7 separate regions of the Homo sapiens genome follow, and regions 1, 2, 4, 5, 6 and 7 are each linked to region 3. The links are contacts of gene promoters, found by promoter capture Hi-C in blood cells and fetal thymus (Javierre and others, 2016). All regions are on one chromosome and are shown on one strand. Each heading gives the region's core, a stretch centred on a gene start or on the middle of the fragment in contact. The rest is flanking DNA. Distances are from core to core; before and after follow the strand shown.

The links. The method cuts DNA at HindIII sites, captures the fragments that hold promoters and counts their contacts. A CHiCAGO score of 5 or more calls a contact.
Region 1: the fragment with the promoter of ZMAT3 here is called in contact with the fragment with the promoter of TTC14 in region 3 in 5 of 17 cell types (total CD8 T cells, naive CD8 T cells, M2 macrophages and 2 more); the score reaches 7.6 in total CD8 T cells.
Region 2: a contact is called between a fragment that was not itself captured here and the fragment with the promoter of TTC14 in region 3, in 6 of 17 cell types (total CD8 T cells, naive CD4 T cells, naive CD8 T cells and 3 more). The highest score is 7.8, in total CD8 T cells.
Region 4: a contact is called between a fragment that was not itself captured here and the fragment with the promoter of TTC14 in region 3, in 1 of 17 cell types (non-activated CD4 T cells). The highest score is 5.7, in non-activated CD4 T cells.
Region 5: a contact is called between a fragment that was not itself captured here and the fragment with the promoter of TTC14 in region 3, in 1 of 17 cell types (monocytes). The highest score is 6.3, in monocytes.
Region 6: a contact is called between a fragment that was not itself captured here and the fragment with the promoter of TTC14 in region 3, in 4 of 17 cell types (total CD8 T cells, total CD4 T cells, naive CD4 T cells and 1 more). The highest score is 7.2, in total CD8 T cells.
Region 7: a contact is called between the fragment with the promoter of GNB4 here and the fragment with the promoter of TTC14 in region 3, in 2 of 17 cell types (M2 macrophages and monocytes). The highest score is 6.2, in M2 macrophages.

What each region holds. Positions count from the first base shown.
Region 1 is chr3:179,069,636-179,073,210 of GRCh38, forward strand. It overlaps ZMAT3 (zinc finger matrin-type 3), which reads right to left and starts at 2,174. Exons shown (of 6, transcript NM_022470.4): 1 at 1,960-2,174. RefSeq lists silencers at 1,901-2,050, 2,191-2,600. The HindIII fragment of the contact is 9,531 bases long and covers 1,164-3,575 here.
Region 2 is chr3:179,569,209-179,573,050 of GRCh38, forward strand. It overlaps ACTL6A (actin like 6A), which reads left to right. Exons shown (of 14, transcript NM_004301.5): 2 at 616-692; 3 at 859-1,033. LOC124909462 (a long non-coding RNA gene) reads right to left here. Exons shown (of 2, transcript XR_007096181.1): 2 at 2,315-2,562. Among named protein-coding and RNA genes, the nearest start is that of ACTL6A, 8.2 kb to the left of the region's middle. The HindIII fragment of the contact is 1,020 bases long and covers 1,219-2,238 here.
Region 3 is chr3:180,599,970-180,603,642 of GRCh38, forward strand. It overlaps TTC14 (tetratricopeptide repeat domain 14), which reads left to right and starts at 2,194. Exons shown (of 12, transcript NM_133462.4): 1 at 2,194-2,453; 2 at 2,922-3,046; 3 at 3,155-3,354. The coding sequence starts at 2,293. It overlaps TTC14-DT (TTC14 divergent transcript), which reads right to left and starts at 2,144. Exons shown (of 3, transcript NR_183700.1): 1 at 1,934-2,144. RefSeq lists an enhancer at 1,985-2,274. The HindIII fragment of the contact is 2,365 bases long and covers 1,850-3,673 here.
Region 4 is chr3:179,022,678-179,026,474 of GRCh38, forward strand. It overlaps ZMAT3 (zinc finger matrin-type 3), which reads right to left. Exons shown (of 6, transcript NM_022470.4): 6 at 1-2,551. The coding sequence ends at 2,340. Among named protein-coding and RNA genes, the nearest start is that of ZMAT3, 47 kb to the right of the region's middle. The HindIII fragment of the contact is 6,996 bases long and covers 1-3,797 here.
Region 5 is chr3:179,429,280-179,433,189 of GRCh38, forward strand. The region is part of intron 1 of GNB4 (G protein subunit beta 4); the gene reads right to left. Among named protein-coding and RNA genes, the nearest start is that of GNB4, 20 kb to the right of the region's middle. RefSeq lists an enhancer at 2,988-3,047. The HindIII fragment of the contact is 4,091 bases long and covers 1-3,600 here.
Region 6 is chr3:179,551,661-179,555,538 of GRCh38, forward strand. No RefSeq gene overlaps it. Among named protein-coding and RNA genes, the nearest start is that of ACTL6A, 9.3 kb to the right of the region's middle. The HindIII fragment of the contact is 1,633 bases long and covers 1,701-3,333 here.
Region 7 is chr3:179,449,981-179,453,407 of GRCh38, forward strand. GNB4 (G protein subunit beta 4) reads right to left here and starts at 1,490. Exons shown (of 10, transcript NM_021629.4): 1 at 1,366-1,490. It also overlaps the pseudogene RPL29P34. RefSeq lists silencers at 1,061-1,470, 1,511-1,660. The HindIII fragment of the contact is 16,902 bases long and covers 1-3,427 here.

The DNA.
Region 1 (3,575 bases), core at 924-3,423, 1.5 Mb before region 3:
TAACTACACAGCACCTGAAAATCAAGTAACAACTTTCAGACGAAATTTGGGGTGGGGAGGCAACAAAGGAAATCAGCGTGATGGGAAAATAATGTAGTTAAGGACAAAGTGCATAAGTATTAGTCATAGAATTTAACAATACTTCTCATTAATCACAAAATTTAGAAAAATGATAATATTATTTAATTTTTAAGCAGAAGTGTACTGCCCATATCTCTGGGAACATAAAAGAAAAGCAATATAGAGTTTTAACATTTAAAAAGTCAGGTTCTCTGTAATGGTATTATTTCTCTTAATTGAATCAAGCAAAGATAGTCCAGAAAGCAAAGACAGATATGGTCATTTTAGAAAACGGAACTAAGTAGACAAAGAACAGCTTTTAAAAAGTTTAACTACCTAATAATAATAATTCATAATGTTGAAAAGCTACTGATGTCAAATTGCCACAAACATTCTGCTAGTTCATTAGTGAAAAGGTGGGGGGGGGTGTCAAAACCTCTGGATAAAGGAAATCAGCAATATAAACAGAAAATCAAATGCTACCAATTGCCTAGGCATGTCTGGACTTGTTTTATGAAAGCTCACTTTCACTTGAGGAAATTCTAGCATGTGTCTCCCCCAGTGTTATCTACAGGTTTCCCTCAAAATAAAGATCCTTCTCAAAGAACAGAGGCACAAAAGGCCTCCTACCAGAGGTGACAGTTACCTGATTTAAAGAAAAAATTCTTGCCAAACACAGATTTACCCATTATCACATTTGATCTTTACAATTTTTAAAGAGTAGCTTGATATCCCAAATTTATTTCTTGTTATATTTAACAATCAACACAATGTCGACTCCTCAAAAAAATCTATGTATGACAATTGCATCAAATATTAGTACATTTGCAAACAAAAATTAGTATAAAATATAAATCTTAAAATGAATAAAACCAAGTCTTCAGTGAATGCATGAATGATGGAATACAGAGACCCAAAACATGCAACTCAGATCTGTTCAACTGTTGCATTGGTTTAAAAGGGACTAATTTGAAGACTGGCATAAATATTCTTCAAATCTTAAAAACCAGTCACTTTGATGCTTGCGATGGCATAAATGAAGGATTTATGCTGGTTAATGTCCTGGTTTGGAAAGGAGCTAAGACGACATTAAAGAAAATCAAAGCTTCACAAGGTACCCTGTTTAAAGAAAATTAATTGTCATAGCATACTTAGTTTTAATGATTGGACTGGGGCCTACTCTTCACATACTGTGTTAAAGACAATCTCTTGTCTCATTTGGAGAAATCTACAGAGGAAAGAGAATAGAATAAAGGAACAGGTTAGGAGCACCTCAGCAAACTAGGTAAGTCTGTAATTGGGAATTCTGGAAATGAGGGAAAGGCAGCGAGCATTACTCAGAGGTCATCAGAACGCAGCAAGAAGGAATGAGAGGGAGAAAAGTTAAAAAAAATAATAATAATAATCACTTGAGGCAAGGTGTATCCTATAAAGAAGGCTCAAAAGAACGCAGAAAACTGGGGAAGAGGCCTTGGTGAATTGGCGAATGTTTTTCAGTCTCCGCTGTGACGGTTCCTAATCCTAGAGAACTGTTTACAGATTTGAATCAAAGCTACAGACAGTTCAGCGTCGCCCACATCCACCTTACATTCCTAAGATGTGCATGCATACACACGAACCCACACACGCACCTCAACCCGGTATGGATGCCATCACGAAGGATGGAATCCCCCGACTCCCACGGGGCGGGGGCAACTGAGAGGGCCAAGGCAGCTGCACGCACAGATGATCCACCTGGTCCACGTGAAATGCCTGAAACAAGCAAACTGATAAATAGAAGCAGCGCAAGCCCTGTCACGTGGAGGGCAGATGGAAAGAGCATCGGAAAGGAACCGCTAGTCCCCGGCGCTCCAGGGGCTCGTCCTGAAAGCTCCGCGGCTCCCAATCGCCCGCACTTACCGGAACCCCCGGGACGCGCCGGCAGTCTCCGCGCCGCGTCCGCCCGGGACGCCCGCGACGCCCGCCCTGCGCGCCCGGCTCGGCCCAGCTCGACCCAGCCTCTTCTCGGAGCAACTTTCTCCGCCGGCCGCCGCCGAGCCCCCTCCGCAGCCGAAGGCTGACTGTCAAAAGTCAGTCCAACCCGACCCACAGGGAAACAGCTGCAGGAAGTGACTGCGGAACCGGGAGGCGGTGGAGGAGGAGACTGAGGGCGCCGGCTCGGCGTCGCCACTGCGCATGTGCTTGGCGGAGCAGGCCCGGCAGCGGTGGCAGCGGTAGCAGTGGCGGCTCCCGCATCCCCGGCGGGCGGCGCGTGGGTCAGGTGCCCTGGCCGCGAGCGCAGGGGCGCGGGGTTAGGCCGGCGTGGGGAACAAAGGCACGAGTGAGAGGCGGGAGGGTCCCGCCGCCAATCTCAGCAGACAGCCCCGAAGAGCAGTTCAGCAGATGCCCTGGAAAGTTAATCCTTGGTAGAAGCCTGGGCAGAGCTTTTGCAACTTTCATCTCCAGTCATTGGGATCCAAACATTGTTCATTCTGTTCCTCCCTTAGCCTGCTGGTTGGCGGTTAAGGCGGCTGAGTGGATCCTTTAAACTGCTGCAACAGAACCTTTAAACTGCTGCTCTCCCCACTTCCGCCCCAGGATGGAGGAAGAAGAGCGTGGCTGCCTGCCCAGTATCGGCCTCCCTCACACAAAACGCCCCCACCCACCCACACACACACCTTCCCTCCCCTACACGAAAGTGAGCAGGAGATAGAGGAGACTTTCTCCTGACCCCCAGAGGCTCACCTGCAAGACAGGAAGGACCAGGAAAAGAGTGGCCAACGCTAGGATGTCACATCCTTCATAACCAACCTGGACATCTTCAATGTTAACACTGAGTGATGAGCTGAGGAAATTCCGGCTCTAAACTTATAGCGTAAATTAACTCGTATGAAGATCTGCTGGGGTATTATTTTTGTGTGTGGCAAACGATAACAAATATACTACTTTAAGAGTACAGGCCGGGCGCGGTGGCTCACGCCTGTAATCCCAACACTTTGGGAGGCCGAGGCGGGTGGATCACGGGGTCAGGAGATCGAGACCATCCTGGCTAACACGGTGAAACCCAATCTCTACTAAAAATACAAAAATATTAGCCAGGCGTGGTGGTGGGCGCCTGTAGTCCCAGCTACTCGGGAGGCTGAGGCAGGAGAATGGCGTGAACCCGGGAGGCGGAGCTTGCAGTGAGCCGAGATCGCGCCGCTGCACTCCAGCCTGGGTGACAGAGCGAGACTCCGTCTCAAAAAAAAAAAAAAAAAAAGTACAGTTCAGTGGCATTAAGTACATTTGCATTATTGTGTGGTTATTTTTTAAAACACGAATTAAAATGCCAAGGAGATCTAAGTATAGTAAGATGTGCCCTATTAGTAGGGAAACAACTGCAGGAAATCAAGGCTGTTTCTTTGGCTGAAAAATGCACCAATCCAATACCAACAACAACAAACCATAAAAGACTTCATAAGTACAATGAATATGAAGTACAAACATATACACACAGTGTACACCAGCCATTTGGGGAGAGTAATCCATCACCTGAA
Region 2 (3,842 bases), core at 479-2,978, 1.0 Mb before region 3:
ACAGCTCCTGTCAGGTAGCCCTCCCCATACAACTTTCTCTCCAGATTCTGATAACAGTTATTTCTTCTTGTTTCTTCAGTTTGAAGAATGGCAATGGATCCATTATTATTAGTTATCATTATAGTACTGGGGTACTGTACTGTCCCTTCTGGTTGTCCTGTATTTCACCTATATCTTTGCAAATAATTCCCTTTAATAAGTAAACTGAAATTACCCAGTTTTAGTGTACCATTTCTTAACTGATTGAACCTCTACTTAAATACGGTGTATGCCTTGTTATATTTTAATTAAATGATTCTTTAAGGTGTATTTGAAACTAGGTTCAAGTGAGTAATAATATGAATATAATTGGGCTGAGTGCAGTGGCTCATGCCTGCAGCACTTTGGGATGCTGAGGCAGAGGATTGCTTGAGCCCTGGAGTTTGAGTCCAGCCTGGGCAACATAGTGAGACCTTATGTCTACAAAAAATTTAAGAAATTCATTGTAGTCCCAGCTATTTGGAAGACTGAGGCGGGAGGATTGCTTGAGCCTAGGAGGTTGAGGCTGCAGTGAGCTGTGATTTTCATATGATACTTTTGCAAGCTGTTAATGCTAATTATCTTTAATCTTTTCAGATGAAGTTGGAGCCCTTGTTTTTGACATTGGATCCTATACTGTGAGAGCTGGTTATGCTGGTGAGGACTGCCCCAAGGTAAGTGTAATGTTAGAGTTAATTGGATATGTAAAGCCATTCATGTAAATTAAATTTATGCAGAAATTCTGATTCAAAACAAAATATAATAAAATACATTAATTGGGGAAAAAATGCCTTCTTGATGAAAGGTGAAACTTGTATGTCATGTTTCTGACTCTTACAGGTGGATTTTCCTACAGCTATTGGTATGGTGGTAGAAAGAGATGACGGAAGCACATTAATGGAAATAGATGGCGATAAAGGCAAACAAGGCGGTCCCACCTACTACATAGATACTAATGCTCTGCGTGTTCCGAGGGAGAATATGGAGGCCATTTCACCTCTAAAAAATGGGATGGGTATGATGTTTTCCCCATGGAATTGATTATGGAGTGTACATGTTATATTTTAGATACAAAGTAGTAGCTTCCTATAAGTTGAACATCAACCATGGTTTTTTGTTTTGTTTTGTTTTTTATTCCACAAACTGATTTCCAGACACTGAGAATACAAAGATGCATAAGAAATGTTCCTTTTCATTAAAAGCTTACAGTTAGTTGGGGGAAATAGATGTATATATACAAATAATGGTACACTGTGGGATAAGTGGTACAATATAGGTATGTGCAATGAGCAATGGGATTAGAGAGGAGAGGTATTTGACTCTAGTGTTGGGAGTCAGTGATGGTTTTCACAAAGGAGGTAACATGATGAATCTTGATCAATGAGTAAGAATTAGCTTGGCTGACAAAGCTGGGTAAAGCAAAGGGACCAGCATGTGTGAAGGGATGGAATTGTGAAAGAAACTTATGTGCTTGAAAATGTAATACAATTAAGTATGGTTGCAGCATTGGGCTTATTAGGGTCAGTAGCAGGAAAGGTAGGCAGAGAGCAGTAGCAGGAAAGGTAGGCAGGGAGCAGTCATAAAAGGGCTTGTAAACCATCCCAGGGTTGTATTAAGCTAGTGACTGAAGGATAACCCCAAAGGAATTTAAACAGATGTGATGGTCAGAGTCCAGATGAGAAATGAAAAAGGTTTAAACTATTATATAATGCTGGTAGAGATTCTGAAGGGACTTTCAGGGTAACCAGGAGACAAATGGTACTAAATGATCGAGGGAGTGAAAGCAAGAGAGAAGTTGAGAAAGTTTCCTAGATTTTTGGTTGGGGTAACTCTGAACAGAGAGTACCATGCATTGAGATAGGAATATAAAGGGAAGGAGCAAGTGTTACGGTTTTAAAAGGCATGGTTGGCCATGCGTGGTGGCTCGCGCCTATATAATCCCAGCACTTTGGGAGGCTGAGACTGTGGGTGGATTGCTTGAGTCTAGGAGTTTGAGACCAGCCTGGGCAACATGGCGAAACCCCATCTCTACTAAAAATACAAAAATTTGACAGGTGTGGTGATGCGTACCACCTGTAATTCCAGCTACTTGGGAGGCTGAGGCATGAGAATCACTTGAACCCAGGATGCAGAGGTTGCAGCTGAGATCTCATGACTACACACCAACCTGGGTGACAGAGTGAGACTCTGTCTCAAAAAAAAAAACAAAAAAAAAAAACAAGCTTATCAGGGATAGCCAAAATCACTCTCAGGTTCAATTATTCACCAGCAAGACTCACTCACAGGACTCAGCATATGGTTGTATTCACAGCTAAGATTTATTGTACTGAAGATTCAGATACAAAACAAAATCGACAAAGGGAAAAGGGACAGGGGATGATGAAGTCCAGATACAGGCTTTGGAGAGTCTTCTCACAGTGGAGTCACACAGGATGTGCTTAATCCCTCCAGCAACAAGTTATGATCTGTGTTACCTTCCAGGAGAACTCTGAGGCTCAGTACCCAAGGATTTTACAGAGGGCTGGTTATGTAGGTACCATCTACCTGGCATGTAACAAAATTTTAGATTCTCAGAAGGAAAGCAAGTGTTCAGAACAAACCACATTGTATAAACAGTGTAGGTATAGCGAGCTACCCTTACCATTTAGGGACAAGTTTTATATGAACATAGGGAACTGTTTGCCAGTCATGTTTCCAGACACCAGCTAAGAGTCAGCCTTACAAGCAGGCCTTTCTCAGGCTTGCAGTGTTAACTCTTTCATGTGTAGTAAGTAAATGGGTTCACTGAGTTCAAAGTACTTAGAACATCCAGGTGATAATTCAGTAAACGGGAATAAAAGGTTATAAGAAAGATTTTAAGACATGGAGTTGCATTTTATTACTCTGAAAAAAATTGGAACATGAGAAGAGGATTGAAGATGGAGTTCTAGCAAAAACTTGTTGTATATTTTAACCAATAGAGAATAAAAGGTACCCTTGAAGGAGAAAGAAAGGGAACAATTAGGGATGTAGGAAAAAAAGCAGGGGAAGAACAAGAAAAGAAAAAGTTTCTGGAAGCATAAAATTCCAGTTATTCTCGGTGTTTTCTGCTGTGACATTGAAAGCTTTACACTAAGAAAGAAGTTAAAAAAATCCAGGTGGGCCTGTGGAAATATATAATTAATGACATTTTTTCTTTGGGCTGTGACAGAAAAGTTTGTAAACTCTTGTGTAGGCAATACTGTCATAATTTAGAGAAGTCAGATGAGATTAAAAATGTTAAGTATCCATGAATTTGCCTAGTAGAAGGTCATTAGTGGCTGGGGGCGGTGGCTCACGCCTGTAATCCCAGCACTTTGGAGGCTGAGGTGGGTGGATCACCTGAGGTCAGGAGTTCGAGACCAGCCTGGCCAACATGGTGAAACCCTGTCTCTACTAAAAATGCAAAAATTAGTTGGGTACGGTGGCGGGCACCTGTAATCCCAGCTACTCGGGAGCCTGAGGGAGGAGAATTGCTTGACCCCAGGAGGCGGAGGTTGCAGTGAGCTGAGATTGTGCCATTGCACTCCAGTGTGGGGGACAGAACGAGACTCCATCTCAAAAAAAAGAAAAAAGAAGGTCATTAGTGACTTATGTCAGTAGTTTTAATGGAATGTTTAGGTGGAAGCCAAATTGAAGACAGATGCTCTTCTTTGAATTTTTAACATGTCTTTTAGTCTTTTTCCAAATAGATTGTAAGTTTTTTTGAGTGTCGGGTCTAGACCATACAATTCTTTCTTTTTTTTTTTTTTTTATAAATCCAGCAGTAGTATCATCAGAAGGCCATACAATTCTTCTGTACTTCC
Region 3 (3,673 bases), core at 944-3,443:
GAGTAGTATTCCGGAAGTAAAGAATAAGACTGCCTTCGGCACCCAACTAATGTGGCTACTTTCACATAAGGAACTAACCAAAGACAGAAAATCCCACGCTGAGTTTTGAGTACATTTGCTTAAAGTGCATTTCTTCTGTCACTACTATACGAAAAATATCACTCTTGATAAATGCTGTTTACCCCCTAAAAGGAGCTGCTTTCTATGTTCACGGCCATTTCAGATGTTCAAGGTATGAGGTGGGGGAGGGTTATCCTAGTGTTGGAATTAGGAAGAAGTATAGACAGATCCCATAGTGATAAAACCATGTGCTACTGAAGAATGGCCTCAGAAGGTGACATTCCCAGGCTAAGTAACACTATTTGGTGTCTGGTTCTCAGACACCGGTTTCTTAGTCCCTCCAAAAAATGAGGTCCTTGATCACAGATTGACTCTAACACAAATCACATACTTATCAAGATGTCTATAATAATTTTTAGTGGTCAGCTTTCCTTTTCAGTGACAGCACTCTTTCCTAAAAACAACCATTCTCTAGAGTTATGGCTTAAAACAAGTCAGTCTGTACCATTTATTAAAGTTGATATGCCTATAGAAGCTTGAAATTTATTTATTTATTTATTTATTGAGACGGAGTCTCCCTCCGGCGCCCAAGCTGGACTGCCGTGGCGCGATCTCAGTTCATTACAACCCCCGCCTCCGGAGTTCAAGAGATTCTCGTGCCTCAGCCTCCCGAGTAGCTGGGACTACAGGCATGAGCCACCACGCTCGGCTAATTTTTGTATTTTTAGTAGAGACGGGGTTAGGCCATGGTGGCCAAGCTGGTCTCTGAACTCCTGACCTCAAGTGATCCACCCTCGGCCTCCCAAAGTACTGGGATTACAGGTGTGAGCCACCGTGCCTAACCCAAATTTATCTTTTACAGTTGCATTCTTGTTTGTTGCATTTTCTCAAGTCTCAAACTGTTTACCTATTTGCCTGGGTTTTCCACAAAACAGTGTGGCAGTATCGATTATGTTCTGGGCTAGATCTCCTATACAAAAGTGGTAACACAGTGAAAGGCAAGTTGATTTCCTCAAAGACACATGGTGGGAAGTGGAGAGACTAACTGTCACCGTTTATTTCTGTTCAAGAGGACTATACTGAACTATTTACACTGAACATATTTAAATGGTACAAATTTTATACTGGAATAAAACGAAGCTACATGATCTCAAAATTAGGGTTAGTTAGACCTTCCATATGATAAAATACTCAATCCAGCAACTCTGCCTGAGAAGACCAATTAATACTTCGTTTGGAATCCTAACTCTAGCCTCTTACTAGCTGTGTGCCATTGAGCAATTTACTGGGACTCTCTGAGCATGTTTCCTCGTTTTCTAAAATGAAAAAGTACAATAGCTACCATAGTGGTTAGGTTCTCAAGTCAGTAAGTAAGGGGATGGGGGACCTAAGTTGAAATTCCCTTTGAAAATCACTTGAATTGTCCATAAGAACAGTATATTGACTTTTGCGTACATACCACTATACAGTAAGTCCCACAGACACTAAATTTTGAGCAACCATTGAGATAAACTAAATAAGAAATGCATGTGTTCATTAGTTATTGTAAAACTTGAATGGCATATGCACGTGTGGAGACATTAAAGCCATCCTGGTTTTAGAATTCACAATCACTAACAGTAAATGGGGTATGGATGGAGAACACCACTCCAGGTGCTTAACAAATGTCCGTGTCCTTCCTTTCTTCTGCCCTTAAAACCACCTGGAAACCTTCCCGGAGCAGCCGGTTGAATGGGGTTACGCCAGAGACACAGGTATTGATTTACGCAGAGAGTACGTCGAGGGAAGAAGCTTGGAGACTCGTATAGGGTTCTTACCCTGGCACTGGCACTTAGAAGCACCTTGATGAATACGAAAAGGAATTATTATTTACCCTAGGTTACAGCTCGAGCTATTTCGACGTAATAACGATCCCACGTACACTTTAAAAAGCAAACTTCTCACATACATCACTTCCTGGAAGCCCTAGTCAGCCTTTAGCCCAAGCAATGCTGAGCCCAATCCTTCGGCCTTCCGTAGTCTCGCTCGGTTTCGCGAGATCGAGGCTGAGCTCCGCCGCGCCGCCGTGGGGGCGACCCCAGAACACTTCCGGGTGTAACTGGTTGTGCTGTCTGTGTACTTCCGGCAGCCTCCAGACAGTTTCTTCCGCTTCCTGTACCACCCGGCTCAAGTAGCGGACACGGAACAGGGAACTATCAGCCCGTCGGCCTCCGGGCCCTGCATTCTCTAGCCATGGACCGGGACCTTTTGCGGCAGTCGCTAAATTGCCACGGGTCGTCTTTGCTCTCTCTACTTCGGAGCGAACAGCAGGACAATCCACACTTCCGTAGCCTCCTGGGGTCGGCCGCCGAGCCAGCCCGGGGCCCGCCGCCCCAGCACCCGTTGCAGGGCAGGTAATGAGACGTTGGTGCCACTGCGCCACGGAAGAGGGGACGCAGCTCTGGCAGCCACTACCGCAGCCCCGGGTTTGCGTCTAGAGGAAGTGGAGCCGCGGCCGTGAGCACAGGACGATCGCGCGCTGGTGTCTTGGGCTGGGTGGACGGGGGGCGCTCCTGGGTTGTGCAATGCGGGATGCGGGCTGAACTTTTTCTCTGGCACTGCTTGGTAGAGGCGCAGATTCCTTAGCTAAAAATCCCTTGAGCTTTCCTATCTGAGTTGGAGGCGTCACTTTTTAAGTTTCCCCGCTCTCCACCTCCAGGTTGGTTAATGAGGGAATGCCTAGTTAAAACTTTTTGTCTGAGGTTGTATTGTCTGCAGCTTAGGATGGAGCGGAATGGGCGATGAAAGCCATAAGCAGAAGGTTAGAAGTAAAGAGGCTTTGCAGATAACCCAATTTTCATATATATTTTTTTCTTTTTAAGAAAAGAGAAGAGAGTTGACAACATCGAGATACAGAAATTCATCTCCAAAAAAGCGGATCTGCTTTTTGCACTTTCCTGGAAATCAGATGCACCTGCAACTTCTGAAATTAATGAAGACAGTGAAGGTCAGTTTAGCCTTAAAATCTTTAAGATTGCGGTTCGGTTTAACAGTACTTCAGGTGAAACGGAACTCAAAACTATCGTTAGTGATTTTGTTAATTTTTTTTTTTTAGATCATTATGCAATCATGCCACCTTTAGAGCAATTCATGGAGATACCTAGTATGGATCGGAGAGAGCTGTTTTTCCGAGATATTGAGCGTGGTGATATAGTGATTGGAAGAATTAGTTCTATTCGGGAATTCGGTTTTTTCATGGTGTTGATCTGTTTAGGAAGTGGTATCATGAGAGATATAGCCCACTTAGAAATCACAGTAAGTTATTTTTGTTACTTGGATTGCTTCTGTTTTTGTTAACGCATCTCAATGCAAGAACTATATCTTTGCATGCAGTTGTGCTCAAGTATACCTGCCAAGATGCTTTTGGAAATTAAATGTTAATTGGAGAAAAATAGTTTAAAAAAATTAGTGTAAGTTACCCAGTTTCTCCCTCCATTTCTGGTTTTTGGGATTTTTTAAATTTAAACTGGTTGGCAGGCACAGTGTTCTTTTCTAAATGCTCAAAGAGGTATCAGTGGACGTGGTGAGGTTGATTGATATTCAGACTTATTTCTTGTAGTTGAACATATGTATT
Region 4 (3,797 bases), core at 509-3,008, 1.6 Mb before region 3:
CAGGTCTAGATAGAATCCTAACAGAATAGTATTTGATTCTTCTGTTTCTGGGAGAAGAAAAGTTACAAAATAATTCTACTTCTCAAAGAACCACCACTTCAAGAGAAGACAGTAACTGGATACTATACAAGGGTTAATCACACAAAACTCGTTTTTAAACATGGGTCTGAGTTGTTTAAAAATTGTCCCAAAGTATTACAGAAGAAGAATGATTGTAATTTGCCTTCCCCAATTTTTTTTGCCTACAGAATTATCAAGAAAAAATAGAAGTTTTACCTCTAATTAGTAATACAAGCAATCAAATGTGAACTGACCATTGTGCAAACATACTGCTTAAAATATAAACTTCCTGATCAAGTGGGCTTTCAAAAGAAATACGGATGACCACTGGTCTTACCCATATAAAATATAGTAAATAGATAAAATGTAGTTAATGAATATTCACAGAGCACTCCATTAGTTAATCTAGATATATATTATAGCTTCTTTTTTTTTTTTTTTGGAGACGGAGTATTGCTCTGTCGCCCAGACTGGAGTGCAGTGGCACGATTCTTGGCTGACTGCAACCTCCACCTCCTGGGTTCATACAACTTCTTATTTTAAACGCAAAAAAACAAAAATAATAATACTGATATAATTATCAGATGCCAAAGTGATCTATCATATACTTGTTAGTATCTTCAAGAAAGCCGAATTACAAAGAATAAAACCATAGTTCGTGTATATTTCTACTGGAAACGAAGATAGTGAAACTTTATTTGCTTTTTAAAAAATTCCTCTGTGTATAAAACAGCAGGTGGTGATATTTTTCAGGATGGCCACCAGACTGGCAAGACAGAGGAAAATGTAAGTAAACCGTAAGAATCAGATTATCAAAAAAGTCTGGCAAAACAAAATATCAAGCAATCTGAACTTATGGTTTAGATCATGATATAAGCGCATGTTACTATCAATGAAGTAACTCTAAATTGGAAAATCAAACACACCTTTGTTTCCTAAAAACTGCTGGAAAATATATCTATATATATATATATTTTTTTTTTTTTTTTTTTTTTTTTTTTGAGACGGAGTCTCGCTCTGTCACCCAGGCTGGAGTGCAGTGGCGCGATCTCGGCTCACTGCAAGCTCCGCCTCCCGGGTTCACGCCATTCTCCTGCCTCAGCCTCCAGAGTAGCTGGGACTACAGGCACCCACCACCACGCCCGGCTAATGTTTTGTATTTTTAGTAGAGATGGGGTTTCACTGTGTTAGCCAGGATGATCTCGACCTCCTGACCTCGTGATCCGCCTGCTTCGGCCTCCCAAAGTGCTGGGATTACAGGCGTGAGCCACCGCGCCCGGCCCTATTTTTTGAAATCATATCCATCTTAAACTCATTGAATATTCAAATATGAGGCTTGGAAAACCCACAGCACAGCTGGGGCATGAAAATGGGCTTGTTAGACAAGCTGATTCAACTAGGGGGGAAAAAAGAGGAGGGAAGAAGGCGGCAATTATATGTGTGAAATCCACAACTGGAAATCAAGTTTAGCTGTTTGGAAGTATACAAGCTCATTGGGAGTATTTGAATTCAAGAAAATTTGCGCTTCAATGATGGGGAGACATGATACAGAAAAAAAAATGTCCTGGGAAAGACCCTAACAGTTTCTAATAATGTATCCTACTGACAATGCATTGAGGTGGCGGTTCTGGTTAAGCCCTGGGAAACTGAAATCTCTGCTGACCTATTTTTACTTTGATCTAAAAAGAATTCAATACAATTCTTTAACAGTACATAAAACTACAATTGCAAAAGAAAATGGCAGAAAAAAATGTCCCGGGAAAGACCTTAACAGTTTCTAATAATGTATTCTACTGACAATGCATTGAGGTGGCGGTTCTGGTTAAGCCCTGGGAAACTGAAATCTCTGCCAACCTATTTTTACTGTGATCTAAAAAGAATTCAGTACAATTCTTTAACAGTACATAAAACTAAAATTGCAAAAGAAAATGAAACTTTTAAATAGTCAAAGTTCTAAGCCGTCAGGCTACTAGTTGACCAGAACTTGAGCAAGATAAAAAGTTATTTCTGATGGGGTAGGTAGGTCACATGCTATGAGCGGCTCAACACCATTGACCCTGCAAAAGCGTTATGACCTAAGAAGCACGTTCTTCACACCCACCTCCCCCCGCCCCGCCCCCGGGCCCCCAGGTTTTGACATCTCATGGTACCACTGTGGGTTACATGTATTAACATTAAGCAGAGGAATGTACTCATATCAAAAAGACCACAAAGCAGGGCAAGTTGACAAAAGGCAAACAACAGGCAGGAAAAGCTGCTCTATCTTAATATGATAATCACTATACATATCCCAGATTCTCCATCTCATTCCTGTACCGCTGTTCAGACACCTTGCTCTTATGTTGCTTGCTCTCTAAATGCTGCCGGAATTCCATCTCTTCGCCAGCTCCAACATTACACATTGAGCAGTAAAACTGGCCACTTGGAGTAACACACATGGCCAGATCACGTGGAATTCTCTGCCGAGAGCGGGGATTGAAGTAAGGACCTGCTAAAGCAAGAGATAAAAATAATATATTCAAAATATTCATTAAGTGAATGACAACCTGACCAATTATCACTGTAATTTGTAATTCTAAGTTCAAATTATAAAATTCACAGATTCTTAGCTTTAAGTGAATGTGAAGTTAATGGATTTTTAAAATTACAATTTTACACAGGTTCGATCTAAAAAGATAAAATGATTCCTCCAACCATTGTCAGAAAAATTGCTGTAGAGCCAAACCCAAATTCCAAATGGCTGTGTCTCTAAAAAAGTGAATACGCTTTTAAAAATACTTTAATTTCCAAGCATTATATCAGAAGTCTTATGCTTATGCTAACCCTTTAATCCAAAAATTCTACTTGTAAGAATTATCCTAAGAAAATACTAAGAATTTTCACACTGAGATTTAATAGCAATATGTTTATCTCAGCAGTGATTATAAAAGCAAAAATTTAGGGGGAAGAAGAGATTCAAAAATAGGATTAAAGAAAGTATGGTAATGAATGCAATGGAAAACTATGCCATTGCTAAATATAATAATGCTATAGAAAACTCTTACGCTATTAAGTAAACTATGAATATCCCAAACTAGGATCCCATTTCTATTTTAAAGAAGTCATACATATGAAGAGACTAGAATGAAATCTGCAAAAGTGTTGGTGACATTACTGATCATTTCATTTTCTTCTTTTTACATTACTGACCTCATAAGCTGGACGCTTAGTTCGTTAACTTTATGCTTTTCACTTCCACTATAATAATATATAGGTAATACTTTTCTCAAAATACTGCTTTCACTGCATCCTACAAGTGTTAATATATTTTCATTACTGTTTCACTGTAGGAATTTTTAATTTCCAGTATAATTGTTTCTTTGAACCATGAGTTATTTAGAAGTGTTTTTAAATTGGAAAACAAATGGAAATTTTGTTTGCTTTTCTATTTTTGTTGTTGACATCTCATTTCATTGTACTCTGGTCAGAGAACATAATCTATCCTAAAATTTATTTTTCTGATATTAATACAGCTATCCCAGCTTCTTTCATTTCAGATGGATTTCTTTCATCCAATTTAACATTTTTTGGACTTTGGTAATTTTACATTTATTACAATTATTAATATATGTTTAGACTTTTCTTAATCATAATGAATTGTGCTTTTTTTTTTTTTTTTTTTTTTTTTGAGACAGAGTCTTGCTCTGTCACCCAGACTGGAATGCAGTGGTGTAATCTCAGCTCACTGTAGCCTCCAC
Region 5 (3,910 bases), core at 305-2,804, 1.2 Mb before region 3:
CAGTGCACGTGCAGCATCCATCTGGGCCTACCTGTGTCACCCTGTGGGCACTGGGGAACACCGGGAATCAACACAAAGCATCATCACACCATGCTACTCACCGTTGAGTAATAAAATCTTTTGTCTCTGACCAAGGAGTTTCATCAAACAGTAACAGACTCATTTATTCGCTTGTAAGTAGGTAAAGATCCCAGGTCCTTTACAGTCATGGATATAGGGTTCAGAAGAAAAAAGATGAGGGGTCCAATGTGGAAAATAGTGAGTTTGTGGCTCATCCCTTCTTAACCAGGCTTCATCCAGTACTTCATCAGGCATTCTAGGTCCAGAACTTCAAGCCTTTTCACAGTACCCTAGCCTGCCTGCCCTTCCATCTTGTCACACTCAACAGCAAAAGCAAAACCCTGGATGAAAGCAGCTACCTACTTTCTTTCAGCCAGCACTCAAGTGGCCAAACATTGATTGAGAAAGTCAAACAATGGGGCATATCAGTTCTACTACAAATTCACATCACCAATCTCAACTGGGCCCTCAAAACTACCTGGCAACCCTGCACAGCTTTGTATGCACTGCTTCTGCTTTTGCTATCAAATATTTAAATTCCTTTGCAATCTTTTCAAAATTTTGACCTTCTCACAAGCCCTCTTGCAGCAGATGACCTTGCCATCTATATCATAAAGTAGAAGCCATCAAACATGAACTTTTTCAATCTTCCACTACTAGATATACAAAGCTATACATACATAACTGACTCATATTCCTCATCTTCCTTGTGTGTGTGTGTGACTGAGAGAGAGACAGACAGACAGACAGACAGACAGACAGACAGACAGACAGACAAAGGCCTCACTCTGCTGCCCAGGCTGGAGTGCAGTGGTGGTTAACTGCAGCTTCAACCTCCCAGGCTCAAGCAATCCTCCAGCCTCAGCCTCCCAAGTAGCTGAGCCCACAGGTGGGCACTACCACGTCAAGCTAATTTTCTTTTTTCTTTTTTGGTAGAGACAGGGTCGCCATGTTGCCCAGGCTTGTCTCAAACTCCTGGGCTCAAGCGATCCCCCCCACCTGAGCTTTTCAAAGTGCTGGGATTATAGGCATAAGTCACTGTACCTGGCCCTTCCTTTCTCTTATAATAGAATAGCTGACTTCTTTCCTGTTTGGGCCAATTCCTCCACTGGTGATTCATTCATTCATTCTGAGACAGGGTGTCACTCTGTCAACCAGGCTGGAGTGCAGCAGCACAATCACAGCTCACTGTAACCTCAAACTCCTGAGCTCACCCAATTCTTCCACCTCAGCCTCCCCCAGTAGCTGGGACTACAGGCATGCATTATCATGCCTGGCTAATTTTTTTTTTTTTTTTTTGAGAAATAGTGTCTTGCTATGTTGCCCAGGCTGGTCTTGACCTCCTGGCCTCAACTGGTCCTCCCACTTTGGCCTCCCAAAGTGCTAAAATTACAGGCATGAGCCACCATGCCCAGCCCCTCCACCAGTGATTTAAACTCTCACCTTTTAAGTAATCTTATACTTCCAGTATATTCAATCTCTTACACTTTTCTCTATTTTTAGTCTTTTTATTTATAAAATGTTCTAACACAGAGAAAGACTGAACAACCCTAATATTCATCATAGCTTCACAAAGTATTAATTTTTTTTGCTGTATTTGCTTTATCTTTTGTTTTTGCTGAAGTATTTTAAAGTCAGTTACAGACATCAAGACATTTCAGCCCTAAATACTTCAATATCTACCAAACCACAATACTATTATCATAACTACCAAAATTAACAGAAATTATTTAATATCTAAAACCCAGTAGATTTTCAAATTTTCCCAACTCTTCCACCAATGTCTTTTTACATCTGATTTGTGCAAATCCAGATCCAATTAAGAACTATATAATACATTTAGCTATGTCTCTTGTCCCACCATCTAGAAGTATCCATCTCCTGCCTGCTCTTTTGCACTTTCTGACATTGACTTATTAGAGAAACTAAATCATCAGCCAGGTGCAGTTGCTCATACCTGTAATCCCAGCTCTTTGAGAGGCCGAGGCGGGTGGATCACTTGAGGCCAGGAGTTCGAGACCAGCCTGACCAATATGGCGAAACCCCATCTCTACTAAAAATACAAAAAAATTAGCCAGGCATCTTGGCAAACGCCTGTAATCTCAGCTTCTCGGGAAATTGAGGCAGGAGAATCGCTTGAACCCAGGATGCAGAGGCTGCAGTGAGCTGAGATTGCGCCACTGCACTCCAGCCTGGGTGAAGAGTGAGACTCTGTCTCAAAAAAAAAAAAAAAAGACTAAATCACTTGTCCTACACAATGTACCCCAATCTGTTTACTTCTTATGGTACTGTTTAACTTGTTTATCTTCTATACTGATTGCTTGTAAACTGGAAGGAAGTTAGATCTACCGGCTAGATTATATTCAGGTTCAATATATTTGGCAAGAATCCTTCCAGGTGATGCTGTGGACTTCATACTGTAGCACATCAGGATGAACTTAATGTTTCTTTGTGCTACTATCAGTGAAGCTAAGATTCCTCAGTGTGTTCAGCTGTTAACAGCTTAATTTGTCCACTGTGGAGTTATAATCCCTCACTCTCATCCAGCAAACAATCTGTGGAGAACCTTTCAGTTTCAAGTGGGTCTTTTCCACCAGCAGCTAAATAGGCCCAAGTCCCTCCCTTAAAAAGAAAAAGAAAAAAGAAAAAATTCCTTGACTCCACATTGCACCATCACTTACAGTCCTTTTTCTTCCCTTCACCAAGGACTTTTAAAGAGAACTGCCTACACATGACCCCACTTTCTCACATGAAATTCTCAGTTCTCAAACCTCATGTCCAGCAGGCTCCGGCTATGTTTGGGCAGGCATGATGGAAAGGGAGCGTAGTTATGAGGCAAGGGGCTGAGAAATGTTGCTAAGCTGCAAAATCAGAACCCTTGTGATGCCTGTGCCAGACAACCGCAACCTTTCTTTGGATGTCTAAAAAGAAATGTCAAAGCTGCCCTTTTTTCCCCTTTCCTTTTTGCTGCTAAAAAGAGGAACTAACTTTTCACTCTTTAAAAAAAAACACAACTGATTCATTTTGTCACTTGGGAGAGAGAACATTCTGATTACACAGATTTTTGGGTGATCTTTTCTTCTCAGCCAACAACTGTTGGATTCCTGAGAATACCAATAAAGCATGAATCTAGCACAGACCAATAGATTATAAACTACTCTAAGACAAACCTAAAGGCTGACTAGGGTAAAAAAAGGCCATAGGATGCCCCAGGTGAAGCCTAATATGGCAAGTCCTAGTAAATATGTTTTGAAGGTAAGGATCCAAAGTGGCCAAACTGTATTGACATGTGTGTACACAATATGACTATAAAAATTTTTAATTCTTGGAAACAATACTATTACATCAGGTATAGTTTAGTAAGTAGCTCCCTCAGGCTGTTTATCAGAAGCATGCGTAAATTCAGGGAAGGGCAGGTTTTTAAGGACACATTTTGACAGCAGAAGAGAAAGTCATCTAACCACTTGCCCTCCTGCAGTTCCTTTACATCCATAGTTTAATAAGAAACAGAAATCAGGGAAGTGGCAAAAGGATGTCTGAAGCTTTGTGATGTGAGGAAAAGAAAAATATGGAAAGTGGAGGGGGGGTGGAAATTGGCAAGACAGTCACCCACTACTGAAGAAATCCTCCATTGGGTCTTAGCCAGGCGGACTAACTGCAGCATCAATTAATTCAGTGTTCCTTAAAGTTTAAAATAATCAAGAGCCCAATCTGAGAAGGCAGTAAACCAAAAAAATCATTTCTCACTGATCAGACTTTTCCTGAAATAATGATAAAAACACGAAGTGATTACAGACAGAAAGTTTTCCATCTACACTAGTTATAGGCAAAACAGAAAATTGAGTGGGAC
Region 6 (3,878 bases), core at 1,267-3,766, 1.0 Mb before region 3:
ACAGTGTCTATAAATACATTTACAGTACTGTAAACGTATTTTTCTCTTCCTTAAGATTTTTTTAATTACATTTTCTTTTCTCTAGGTTAATTTATTGTAAGAATACAGTACAAGCATATAAAATATGTGTTAATCAACTATTTACATTATCCATAAATAGTCATCAGAAAGCTGTTAGTAGTTAACTTAGGCTAACCCTAACCCCTGCATTGTTCAAGGGTCAACTGTAGTTCTTACAGCTATTAAAAGCATCAGAGTTGTTCCCATTGTGCCAATTGGGCTGTAGTAAGAAACACAGAGTAGCAATGCTCCTGGAAGTTTTTGGTGTCTGTCTCCAGGGACATACAAACAAAGAGATTCTGAAGGATTCCACATGATATCCCTTCTGAAAGGTTCTTGAGTAACACTTGAGAGTAACATTTGTGAGTGTGTTGGTTTTCCCCAAGAAAGCTTATTTTTAGAAATTTTACCTAAACTTGCTCTATTTTACATTATTATCACTAAGATCATAATCACAACTTTTATCTAATTTTTTTTTTTTTTTGAGACAGAGTCTTGCTCTGTCACCCAGGCTGGAGTGCAATGGTGTGATCTTGGCTCACTGCAACCTCTGCCTCCCAGGTTCAAGCGATTTTCCTACCTCAGCCTCCCAAGTAGCTGGGATTACAGGCGTCCGCCACCACACAAGGCTAATTTTTGTATTTTTAGTAGAGATGGGGTTTCACCATGTTGGTCAGGCTGCTCTCGAACTCCTAACCTCAGGTGATCACCCGCCCACCTTGGCCTCCAGAAGTGCTGAGATTACAGGCGTGAGCCACTGTGCCCAGCCTTTTTTTTTTTTTTTTGAGACGGAGTCTCGCTGTGTCGCCCACGCTGGAGTACAGTGACACGATCTCGGCTCACTGCAAGCTCCGACTCCCGGGTTCACGCCATTCTCCTGCCTCAGCCTCCCGAGTAGCTGGGACTGCAGGCGCCCGCCACCACACCCGGCTAATTTTTTTTTGTATTTTTAGTAAAGACGGGGTTTCTCCATGTTAGCCAGGATGGTCTCCATCTCCTGACCTCGTGATCCGCCCGCCTTGGCCTCCCAAAGTGCTGGGATTACAGGCGTGAGCCACCGCGCCCGGCCCAGCCTAATATTATTTTTTAAACTGTGGTTTATTGCAAGCTGCTGACCCTGAGCATACAACAGGAATAAAGCAAAGAAAACTAGGAAAATATGTAAATTTTGACAAGTATAAAGTACAGACGAGCATTGAAAAGAAAGAGACAAAAGTGATTGTATATAACTAGTAATATGTACATTTTAAAATGTTTCATTTTGTACCATAAATTTGTTTTAAGATGATTGCTTTTTAAAAAACATTTAGGCCAGGCATGGTGGCTCACGCCTATAATCTCAGCACTTTGGGAGGCCGAGGTGGGCTGATCACCTGAGGTCAGGAGTTCGAGACCAGCCTGGCCAATATGGTGAAACCCTGCCTGTCTCTACTAAAAATACAAAAATGAGCCGGGCATGGTGGCAGGCATCTGTAGTCCCAGCTACTCAGGAGGCTGAGGCAGGAGAACTGCTTGAACCTGGGAGGCAGAGGTTGCAGTTAGCCAGGATCGCACCACTGCACTCCAGCCTGGGTGACAGAGTGAGACTCTGTCTCAAAAAAAAAAAAAAAAAAAAAAATTTAAACTTTTATACTAAGAAAAGCTTTTACAATCCCAGGTTGAGGTTTTAGTCCTTAGGCTAACATTTCGGTACATATTACATCAGGCTTTTTTCCTTTGCTTATATTATCTGCTTATCTATATAAAGATATAGATATAATTTTACATATAGACATATATAACTATATTTTAATATATAATTACATGTAGTTACACACATAATATATAATAATTATATATAATTATGTAGTTACACACAGTTTTATTTGTATAATTTTTACACATAACTTTTAATAAAATAACAACATACTCTATAAATACACAATCTGGTTTTTTGGGTTTTTTTTGAGATGGAGTCTCTTTCTGTCGCCCAGACTGGAGTGCAGCAGTGCAATCTCAGCTCACTGCAACCTCCACCTCCCAGATTCAAGCGATTCTCCTGCCTCAGCCTCCGGAGTAGCTGGGACTACAGGCGCCTGCCACCACACCCAGCTAATTTTTTTGCATTTTTAGTAGAGATGGGGTTTCACCTTGTTGCCCAGGCTGGTCACGAATTCCTGAGCTCAGGCAATCTGCCCGCCTCAGCTTCCCAAAGTGCTGGGATTACCGGCGTGAGCCACATTGCCCAGCCTAATACTGCATTTTTACATTTGTTTTATTTCTCTTGACTGTGAATGGGGCCCATGTAAGATCTGTTTGTGTGTATAATAAGTTCTTATAAATTTTAACTTTTTATAATAGATTTGTGTATTACGTTAGTGAATGATAGCTGGTAACTGCATATATCTTATGCATTGATGACATGCCTTTTTCTTAACTTTTTGGATATGTCTAGGCTATGCAGTTCATTTGTCAGTCTTTTGAAACTGTCACTGATAAAAATTTTCCAATATATTTATTGAAAAAAATTCATGGCCAGGTGTGGTGGCTCACACCTGTAATCCCAGCACATTGGAAGGCGGAGGCAGGTGGATCACTTGAGGTCAGGAGTTCAAGACCAGCCTGGTCAACATAGCAAAAATCCGTCCCTACTAAAAATACAAAAAAAAAATTAGCTGCACGTGAGGGCACACGCCTGTAATCCCAGCTATTTGGGAGGCTGAGGTAGGAGAATCACTTGAACTCGGGAGGCAGAGGTTGTAGTGAGCAGAGACCACGCCACTGCACTCCAGCCTAGACAACAGAGTGAGACCCTGTCTCAAAAAAGCAAAAAACAAATAAACAAACAAAATCACATATTTTGAAACTGCACAGTTCAAATCCATGTTGTTCAAGGGTCAAGTGTATATGGAATGATCACAGGTTCTACTTGTAAATTATTCTTCTTGCTTTTGTCATCCAGTCTAGAGTCCCTATGTGCTTCTGGATCTGGCATACCACAGATAGTACAGAGGCTTTTAAATCCCTGTGGGAGTTTATCAAAGTCTGACAGTTGATATCCAAGGTGAGTGATCCTAGAGTATCATAACATGATTCTCTAGGTTATATGAGGTAAGGGGAGGAGTGGCAAGGAGAGTGTGCACTCAACAATGCTAACTTCGTAATATCAAGTAGGCACGATAGGCTGATTATGGCCTAATTTAATGCTCAAATTCTTCAATAATTTAGTTTTTCCTTCTGGATTATGACCATTTGGGGAGCAGGTTTTATTAGAAATTAACAAACACAATAGTAAGCTTAAATATAGGCTTTCGTCCAGTCAGTTTAGGTAGAGCTGGTAACTGGCATTTATTTGAATAATTTTGCAAAGACCAATGATTTTCATAACTAATAATTAATCCCTTCTCATTTGTATAGTGGTTAGTAAGAGGGGGAAAATAAAAATAATAATCTCCCTGCTTCTCATAGATTTTTCCTAAAAAAAAAAAAAAAAAAAAGAAAGAAAAAAACTTTCCCACCTCCCTCCACCTCCTGCTTAAAAAAAATAAGGGCTGGGCGCGATGGCTCATGCCTGTAATGCCAGCACTCTGGGAGGCTGAGGTGGGCGGATCACAAGTTCAGGAGATCGAGACCATCCTGGCTAACATGGTGAAACTTCGTCTCTACTAAAAATACAAAAAATTAGCCAGGCGTGGTGGCGGGCGCCTGTAGTCCCAGCTACTCGGGAGGCTGAGGCAGGAGAATGGTGTGAACCCGGGAGGCAGAGCTTGCAGTGAGCAGAGATCACGCCACTGCACTCCAGCCTGAGCGACAGAGCAAGACTCCGTCTCAAAAAAAAA
Region 7 (3,427 bases), core at 240-2,739, 1.2 Mb before region 3:
GGAATAACTTCCTAAATAATGTTTATGGGCCCACAAAGAGTTGAACCAACCTAAAATATCACAAGCTGTATCAATCAGTTTTATAAATGTATATACAGAGGGTTGACAACGTTCAATAAGATGATATTTTAAAAGTTTCTATTTCAGTTTCAAATTCATCTACAAACCAAAATGCAACATGGAAAATCTTAAAATGTCTTTAAGCCACATACTGAAATATACAGTAAATTTTCAGAGCCTAGGATCAGTAGTAAACCAAAAGCCCCAAACTGAAGAGTATTAAAATGAACAATGGCAGAGACTCGAAGCACACAATTTTGAATGCACCTAATCAGCCGTCCTCCTCTCCGACTAGAAATAACTTCCCTCCCATCTTAAATTAAGTAGCGTGTGTTCTGTCTCTGTCCTAGAAGATGTACTTAATGGTCATAAACTCTGTTTGCAACACTGAGACGGACTCATAATAAAAGTTCTAATCAACAATTAAATTTTGAACGTTTTAAGAAAACTTCCCGCTAAGCCACACGCCAAGCTACTTTGTCGGTGGCTGAGAGGGAGAAAGATGCATCCTTATCCTTTATGGAAAGAGAAAGGGAAGGAGTGGGAGAAAAGGGAACACAAGGAGACGAAAAATAACAAAGTATTGCTTGTATAAACAAATGAAAGCCTGGTTTCAAACTTTTGAAAATTCAACGTTCCCTTAGCGAATAGCAATACATATCAAAGTATATGGCAATCATCTGTGTTCTGAAGCAGAAAAAGGTGGAGAGAAAAGCAAAACACTTTTTATTGTACTGAACTCACAAGTATTCAAAATTCATCAATCCCCTCCCATCCCCAAACTCTGGACATTATATCATTTCCAAAATAAATCTGAAACAAAACCATTGGACTAATTTTGGACTCAGCGTAGAACTTTTATGAGTCTTCCAAGCACTCTCCACCCAACAGCCCTGCTGGGCAGTCCCGAATACCCGTTATTTTGGGGGCACGCACGGGCTCGTGCTCTGAGTTCCTGGAAGGAGGCCTCGGGGAGTGACGAGAAACCAGGGGGGTCTGCAGGACTTGGACCGCCGACCGTTCCTCGCTCCCCGGGGCGAGCGGTCTGGACCGCCCGGGAAGTGCCTGCGCCGGCGGTCGTGGGGCCAGTTCCCGCGTGGCAGCTGGGCGCGACACAGGCGCGCCCTCCTCGTCCCTCCCGGGCAGCGTCGGCCGCCCGAGCCCGGGGAGACCCGCCCCGCCCCGCGCCGTCACCCGGGCCCCGTTCCGCAGGGGTGGCTCGCGGCGCCCCACGTCCCTGCGAGAAGCCCGGGATCGCTTCGCGGGGCGCACCGACGAGCCGCCGCTCGCGAGCTCGCCGCCTACCTGGAGGGAGCTCAGGCCCGCGTCGACCGCGCGCTGCCGGTGTCCGCTGGGCGCTCAGCAGCCCCTGGAGCGCGGAGCCGGCGTGGAGAGCGCAGCTCACAGCCGAGACCAGAGCCGCCGGCCACACCCAGTCCCGCACCTCCCAGCAGCCAACTCCGCGGCGCGCCGGAGCCGGGGCGGGGACGTGGCTGGAGGCGCGAGGCGCGAGGCACGAGGCGCGCGGGCCCGGCGGGGACGTGCCGGGGACGCGCAGACCCTCGGAGCGCGCGCAGCCCGGGCGGGGGGCGAAGGGAGCGGGCGCCGCGCGCAGCTTCTGCTTCCTATTTTCTCTCTCGTTTCCTGCCAGAAGGAGAAGAAAAACATTCATTCCCGGGCAGTTTCGTTTTCTTGTTGGTGTGGCGCCGGGGCACGCTGCTAAGTAGCGCCCGTCTAAGTGGCGTGGCCAGTTTCCTTTCCGGCGCTGACAGGCGCCAGTTTGCTTGTTAGCAGGATCGAAGGGCAGAGCTAGAAGACCCCAAAGGCCCCATTTAGGTTTCCCATTCTGGAATTCTAAATGTCAGAAAGTAAACTGAAGCCCAGAGTTGCACAACCTTGCGTTGCAGTCCCCGCTCTTCCATCACTAGTTGTAGGACCGTGTACCGTCTCGGGCCTAAGTTTCGTCATCGCCAAAATAAAGATACTGATACCTGCCTCATAAAGGTGCTAAGCATATTAAATGAAGTGATGTTTGCACGAAGCCTGCCTCCAAATAAATGGCCAATACTTGGAAGTTATTGTTCCTATTGTCATTGATAAAACTGGAAGGCCTTCCAGATATCCCTGCCAAGTCGCTCTTCTCTGCATGAGTTAAACACCACATGCATCTCAATCGAGTTTTTTTTTTTTTCACATTTATCTGGGTGTTTTATGTTTAAAATGTCATAAAATAAATGCATCTATCCAATTTGCTTCCTCTGAAGTCAGTACCGCCTGGGAGCATTTTTCCTCTCCCCACCCCCATTTTTCTTCTGAGTTAATTCCAGTTTGACAGACTGTTGCTATAGCATTCCTTCTCTGACGTCAAACAATTTAAAGAAACAGCCCTGGGTAGCGAAAACTGCAGAGGAGTTCTTTGTGGAGTTTCTGTGCCGGAGAAATGTTCGAACAATATCATCAGATAACTTTAACAACCCCTCAGCCTTCCAATCCTCCTTCTGTAGCTGCTTCCCACTATCACCTGGAATAAATCTATTAGTCCCTTGAAAGAGGTGATGCCATGATAAACACACCCTGTTTGTGACTGTGGGGAAAATGTGACCGTTTTGTATAAAAGCCAGGCCGTGACAAAAATAGAAGCAGCTGTTTCTATTTTCTTTATCCACAGATAAAGAAACTGTGGATAATTTTTCCCCCAAAATTTTCATTTTTACTAATATTAGGAGCATTTTTCCATTAAGAAGAAAGAAATGCCAAATATTCTGCATATCAAAGTGTCAGAAGAGCTCGTTGGGACATGAGTGTTTTGCATCTGTAACTATTTATGTTTTAATGATTAAATCCTGAGTTTTATGATTGTCGTTTTTCGGAGGAAGCAAAGGGAAATTGTTAAAGAGTGCCTATTACGGACCATGCTCTCTGCTTTCTTATACTGTACTTAATCCTCATAATTACCTTGAAGTGTGAATTTTATCCCCATTTTACAGATAAGCAAACTGATGCCCTGGTAAGATTAATTTATCGGAGTCACGAAGGTATTGGTAGAGCCCTGCATGACATCAGATTGGATCAACTCCAAAGCCCACATTCTTTCTTTTTTTTGTTTGTTTTTTTGTTTTGAGACGGAGTCACTGTGCAGTGATGTGATGTCAGCTCACTGCAACCTCCACCTCCAGGATTCAAGCGATTCTCGTGTCTCAGCCTCCCAAGTCTGGGATTACAGGCACAAGCCACCACGCCCGGCTGATTTTTTGTATTTTTAGTAGACACGGGGTTTCACCGTGTTGACCAGGCTGGTCTCAATCTGCTGACCTCAGGTGATCCGCCCACCTCGGCCTCCCAAAGTGCTGGAATTACAGGCGTGAGC